Linked DNA regions of Homo sapiens: region 2 is linked to region 1. Evidence: promoter capture Hi-C in 16 types of primary human blood cells and fetal thymus (Javierre and others, 2016). All regions are on one chromosome and are shown on one strand. The core of a region is centred on a gene start or on the middle of the fragment in contact, and the rest is flanking DNA. Distances in the headings are between cores, read along the strand shown. Region 1 holds the start of RABL6 (RAB, member RAS oncogene family like 6). Region 2 overlaps TRAF2 (TNF receptor associated factor 2).

Region 1 (2,903 bases), core at 404-2,903:
GTTTCACTATGTTGGCCAGGCTGGTCTCGAATTCCTGACCTCGTGATCTGCCCGCCTTGGCCTCCCAAAGTGCTGGGATTACAGGCATGAGCCACCGTGCCCGGCCCGGACACCAACTTTCATACCTAGATGCTCAGACTTATCTTTAAGAAGTTGTTTTATCTTGCTTACTGCTAAAGGTGTCTGGGTGAGGGTGGCCCGAGTGGTCTGCAGCTTCCTCTTGCTCACAGGCCGGGGGACTAAGGAAGGCGACATCTTCACTGTCCTCCTGGACTAGCTCCAGCCCCAGGAACTACGGCCTCTCTCCGTGCACACGGCACGCGAATTCATGAACTTGCTTTTAAACCTGCACAAGAGTCTTTCTGATCATTAGTTCTTAAAATTCTACATTACCATGGAAATATCACGGAGGCTCTAAGGCTCCCCTTAAAGTGACCAAAAAACTGGATAGGCGTAGCGTCCTAAAACCTCATAGAAACATACGGAAATGGCTAAGAGGGAAGCAATGTCAAAACAGGGAACCACATAAAAGCTTTCAAAAACTACTGGGAAAGAGCCCGCAAGATGGAAAAACTCATAAGAGGTCGAGGACAATTTACACAATTTATAACAAAGGAATGGAGCGTCCCAGGCACTCAGGAGTCCGTAAATGACTCCTCCTTCCTACGAGAAATGGGATGTCTCCTACAGTCGCAAGTCAGCCCGTGCCTTCTGGAGCTTTTCTAGATACGTCTCTTACAAACGCTTCTTTTAAAAAAAAAGGCGAGAATGTGTGGCGTAGCTAATATTCTGTCTTCAAACTCAGTAGGAAGTCAACAAAGAAAAATCCCGCTGAAAGCGCCAAGGCCGGCTGGGTTCCCCGCACCTCCTGCAGGTGAGTGGTGCCCGGGGCTGGGCACCGTGGAGCGTCGGGGGCGCGGCGCCCCGGGCCGGCGGGCCCTGCTTGGCATTATGTAATCACCCCCGGGCCGGGCAGCCGGGCCAACCCCGCCGCCGCCGACCCGCTCCACTGCACAGCGCGGCGGGAGCGACACGCGGCAGGCGAGTGCGGCTGGGAAACGACCCGCGGCTCGGGGGCCGCGAGGACCCGGCCCTGGCCTGGCCTCTCCTCGCGTCCCCTGGCCCGCGCCCCCGCTCCCGGAGCGCCCGGCGGGCCCAGCGCACCCCACAACCGGCAAGCAGGTGAGACCGACACCCACCACCGCGCGGCGCCCGGGGCCTGGGTTCGGAGACCCGCGCGGCGCTCCCGCGCCCCCCCGGCCCGCCGCACTCACTGTTGTACTGCACCCCCTTGGCGAAGCGCCTCTGCAACGCCTGGTTCATGGACTGCAGCCCGGCGGGGATGTTCTTGTCCCGGCCCGGGGCCTGGTCCGACCCCACCAGCTTCTTCAGGGCGGAAAACATCTTCCCGCTCGGACGTCCCAGCCCGGGCGCGGCCGGCGAGCTCAGCGGCGGCGGGGAAGGGGTGCGACTGGCACCATGTCCCGGCGGCCCCGGCCCCCCCGGAGGCCGGAGCCGGCGCGGCCAGAGGCCGGGGTCCCGGCGGCGGAGCGCAGCCCCGAGCGGCGACTCGGGAACCTCAGCCGCGGCTGCTCCGCTCCGGCCCCCGCGGCCTCCGGCGCGACCGCTCTCCAGGAGTCAGCGCCGCCATCTTGGCGCCGGCTCGGCGGGACGGGAGGGGTGCGCGGCTACGGGGCGCCGCGAGGGCCGCGGGGGCGCGGCGCGCGCGGTCGGCGCATGCGCACGCGGTTCTGGCGCGCAGTTCCGGGCCCGGGCTGCCTCCTTACGCAGAACCTCCCCCGATCCTGCGTGTCCCGTGCTCCTCTCCGAGACCCCGGTCGCCCCAGCGTCCGCAGCAGTCCTGGAAAAATGTTTATTTGTGTAGCAAAGCAGGGAGCGGGGCGGCGGGGCTACTTCTTCTTTTTCTTGGCCGCCTTGAGCTTCCCCTCGATTAGCCGCTGCGCCTGCCTCTTGATCTCGGCGCGCGAAGGGACGTAGCTGTGGTCCATGTCGGGGAACTGGAAGGTGTCTGCGGGCGGAGGCGGCGGCTCGCACACGGGGCTAGCCCAGCTAGGCGCAGCCGCCCGACCCGCCTCTCGCCCCCGCCCTCCACCGACCCGGGCCAGGTGCCTTGCCCCAGGGACAGCCCCAGCGTGCCGGGAGGACTCAGCCCAGCCCATTCGCAGCGGCTCACGCTGCCCTGCCTAGCCTTTCCCGCAGAACCCCCAGTGGAAGCTCCGGCCCAGGCCTTCACCGCGCTCCTCCCTGCTCCAGCCCTGGTGCCTCTCCTCCGGGCCCGTCTGGCATGGCATGCCTCCTCCTTTCGGAGAAATTAACAAGGTATTTCAGTGGCTTTAGCCTCCCCATGGCATCACTAAGTCACCTCCATCAATTAAAGTCCTGCAGGTACAACTGATGCACCCTGTAGCCCCGCTGTCCCTCCAGGATGTCCCGGTGGGATGGGAGCCGGCGCCACCCCGACCTGTGTTCCAGCCACCCGCCTGCAGCCCGGGCCCCAGTTCCGGGGCCTGTACCGATCATATCCTCCTCCCGGTTCTCAAAGCTGATCCTGGTGTTGTACTTCTCCATCAGAGTCGAGGACTCCAGGGTGTCCCTCACCTTTGTGTCGCCCTGCAGGGCAAAGCCCCCTTCAGCCGTGCAGACACTCTGAACGGGAGCCTGTCAGCTTTGAGGGGACGTGGGCTGTGCAGGTTCCTCCCAGCCCGGGGCTACCTCCTCGGTCCTGGACACCATCTGCACTCTGTCAGCCAGGTACGTGAGCTTCCCCTCGCAGTACGCCAGCTTGCTGTTCAAATCGAGGGTGTTGGAGAGCACCACTTCTCTCTGTAGGCCGGGAGGAGGGTCTCATCTCCCCTCTGGCCCTGCCCAGGGACCTGGTGTGT
Region 2 (2,903 bases), core at 234-2,733, 120 kb before region 1:
AATCCCCAAATATAGAAGCCCAGTATGTTAAAGACAAAACTTCACAATCATTAGACGAAAACATGACAGTGGTTTCCAGCCTCAGGGAAGGTCAGGATGTTCTGAGTCGGTCGGAAATAGCACCATTCATAAAGGATAAGATCAGCTGATCATGTGTAAGGCTTAAGCTTCTGCACATCAGGAGCAACAGAAACGCAGTTCAAAGACACAACCGAGAATCCGTAATCAGGAATATCAGGAACTCCTACCAACCAGCAGAATAAGACCCAGACCAACAACCAGAAGAAAAATGAGAAAAAGACATCAACAGGCAATTCGCACGGGAGAGAATCCAAGGGAGAGGTAAGCGTGGTAAAGACGCCTGACTCCGCCGAGTCATCAGAGAAACGCACGTGACAGCGATGCCACTTCACTTCACACACAGCACGCTGCAGCATCTCAATTCCAACAACACGAAGCACGGGCAGGGATGGGAGGGATGGGAGTGATGGGAACCCTCCCCCTGGTGCTGGTGGAAGGACCGGATGCAGCCCCTCTGCAAAGCAAGCTGGCAACTGCTAAAAAGGGGAGGCCTAGAAACCACCAACCCTCCTTCCAGGTTGACAGGAGACCCACGAGAGCAGGTCTGGCTATCTCCAGTCACCAAACCCTGAAGACACGGGAAGAGACTGGAAGGTGCTCTCTAGGGAACTCACACACGGCAGTCAGAATCCACCATGTAGAGTGCCCAGCACAAGATGCATTAAAAGTAGCCAGGCTGAGTCAAAAGCCCAGCTACCTGCAGCTGACCCAGTGGATGGTTTCTGCATTTTTAATGCAATATTCTTATTTGTGAATACAGAAACGTACAGATGCAAAATTCTAAAGCCCAAAGAGAACCGGAACGCCTCAATTCCCGCCACGTGGCCTGGGGAGCTGAGGTGAGGCCGGGAAAGGGAACAGCAGGGCTCTGCAATGCTTGCTCTTTAGGCCCAGTACACACTCACGGAACACAGACAATGCCCGTCGGTCAGCTCCGTGCCTGAGTTATTTTCTGTACTTTTCTGTGGTCAACTTCTCAAACTACAGCAGTGCGTGAAGACGTCGAGAGGGGACAGCACTTTATCCTGGACCCCGATACAGATGCCCAGTAGGTCCCAGCACGGCTGCCCTGACACCGAGTGTGAAGCCGTGCCTACGCCTGCCTGCACTGTCCCAAAAACACACCACAGGGGCGGTGCAGCCAGGACCCTCGGTGTGGCCAGGACCCCCCGGGTGCAGCCAGGATGCTCGGTGGAGCCTGTGCACAGAAAGGCAGGACCAGGGCTGGCTCATCCTCATTCTGCTCTCACAGGAGTCCCTGGGGAGGCCCAGGAGAGGAGATGGACAGGGAAGAACATTCCAGAAGAGGGAACAAGGCTCGAGAAGAGGGAGCTTACATCAGGTGAGGAACAGAGAACACAGCCTGGCTAGCTAGAGAAGCAGGCAGGGGCTAGGCACCCCGTGGGGAGGGGTCTGTGAGAGGAGAGGCCAGGAGGACCCGCAGAGGGTCACCACTGCCAAGGCTGGAAGCCGCAGGCAACCTGGAATCAAATGGATGCCACTGACCACAGAGATTTGAATGGTTTAATAACTCTGTCTTCGTGAGCTGGATGGCAAGCTCTCACACTTTACCCGCAGGCTGTGCTGTGCACCTCCCACACAGTGGTCTGAGCAGAGGCGGCGTGGGACCAGACCCTCTCCCACAGCCAGCCTGGCCAAGGTGGCACAGACCAGAGCTCTGTGCAGACAAGCACCCAGGGGTCTAGGAATGCTCCCTTCTCTCCAGGGGCCAGAGGGGAGAACCAAGCTGCTCAGCCTTCCTTGCTCTGGCCAGCAGGAGGCCCTTCTCCTGGAGCAGCCCTCGTTTCTGCCTGTCATGCCCGAGGGACACAAGGCCATCCACTGTGCTCCTGCTACATGGGCACTGCTGGGATGTGCTCCCACTCTGAGTGTCCCCCACCCAGGGCCTCTCCCTTCACTGCACAGGACAGCAAGGGCAGCTTGTGCTGGGAAGCACCCGAAGACCCTCGGCCAATGCCACCACAGCCCTTGGCTAAGACCGTCTGCCAAGCCCCTCCGCAGTCTCTGAAATCTGAGGACTGGCTGGTGGCTCCTTCCCCCGTGACAGTGAACTTGGCTGCAGGCCGACACCCTCCCAAGCGCCCAAGCGCGGCCCCTGCCCACTTGTACAGTGAGACCCTGGCCCAGCGTGGTGGCCCCTCCGTGAGCCGGCTGTGCCTGGCTGCCCCCAACCCCCAGACACCAGTAGGGGGCAGTTAGAGCCCTGTCAGGTCCACAATGGCCTTGATGAAGATGGCATCGTCCCGCACGTAGGAATTCTTTGCCTCCATCTTGGAGACGGGGCAGAAGAGGGGGCAGCCGCTTGCGATGTTCATGTCGTTGACTGGCCTCTGAAAAGAGGATGAAGTCACGTCGGGCCTGAAGGCGTCAATCACGTGCTCCCGGTTATTCTGGTCGAGCAGCATTAAGGTCACCTGGAGGAGAGAGCCCCAGGGAGGGGACACAGGTCTGTGGGCCGTCTCTCTCTGGCTCCCGAGGGTCTGGACACTGGCAGGGCCACCAGCAGGAGGCCATCCCAGGACCCAGGCCAGAGGCTGAGGCCCAGCCGAGACCACGTGGTGGGCGGCCTTGCTCCTGCCACAGCGCCCGGGCTCCCCAGCCCTCCCCAGCCACCGGCATTCCGCTTCTCTCTGGGGAATCTGTGTCCATTCTGGCCTTTCCTGTCCACTGACATCTGGAGTCCTAGACTAAAGCTTACCACTCCTGAACTTGAATTATTATTAGGAAAATGCAAAAAATAACACATCTGGCAAAGACATTTTCTTGCCAAAGAGATCATGAAGCACCCACTGCCCACTCGT

Evidence for each region. The method cuts DNA at HindIII sites, captures the fragments that hold promoters and counts their contacts. A CHiCAGO score of 5 or more calls a contact.
Region 2: a contact is called between a fragment that was not itself captured here and the fragment with the promoter of RABL6 in region 1, in 5 of 17 cell types (endothelial precursors, M2 macrophages, activated CD4 T cells and 2 more). The highest score is 8.9, in endothelial precursors.

The regions. Positions count from the first base shown.
Region 1 is chr9:136,806,698-136,809,600 of GRCh38, reverse strand. RABL6 (RAB, member RAS oncogene family like 6) reads right to left here and starts at 1,653. Exons shown (of 15, transcript NM_024718.5): 1 at 1,275-1,653. The coding sequence starts at 1,404. It overlaps CCDC183 (coiled-coil domain containing 183), which reads right to left. Exons shown (of 14, transcript NM_001039374.5): 12 at 2,734-2,844; 13 at 2,535-2,631; 14 at 1,860-2,029. The coding sequence ends at 1,911. It overlaps CCDC183-AS1 (CCDC183 antisense RNA 1), which reads left to right and starts at 753. Exons shown (of 5, transcript NR_024580.1): 1 at 753-874; 2 at 2,399-2,772. It also overlaps the pseudogene LOC100422233. RefSeq lists silencers at 842-1,371, 1,382-1,511, 1,532-1,591, 1,642-1,811, 2,012-2,241 and enhancers at 1,517-2,113, 2,114-2,709. The HindIII fragment of the contact is 3,360 bases long and covers 535-2,903 here.
Region 2 is chr9:136,925,296-136,928,198 of GRCh38, reverse strand. It overlaps TRAF2 (TNF receptor associated factor 2), which reads right to left. Exons shown (of 11, transcript NM_021138.4): 11 at 1,592-2,516. The coding sequence ends at 2,298. Among named protein-coding and RNA genes, the nearest start is that of FBXW5, 18 kb to the left of the region's middle. The HindIII fragment of the contact is 2,628 bases long and covers 170-2,797 here.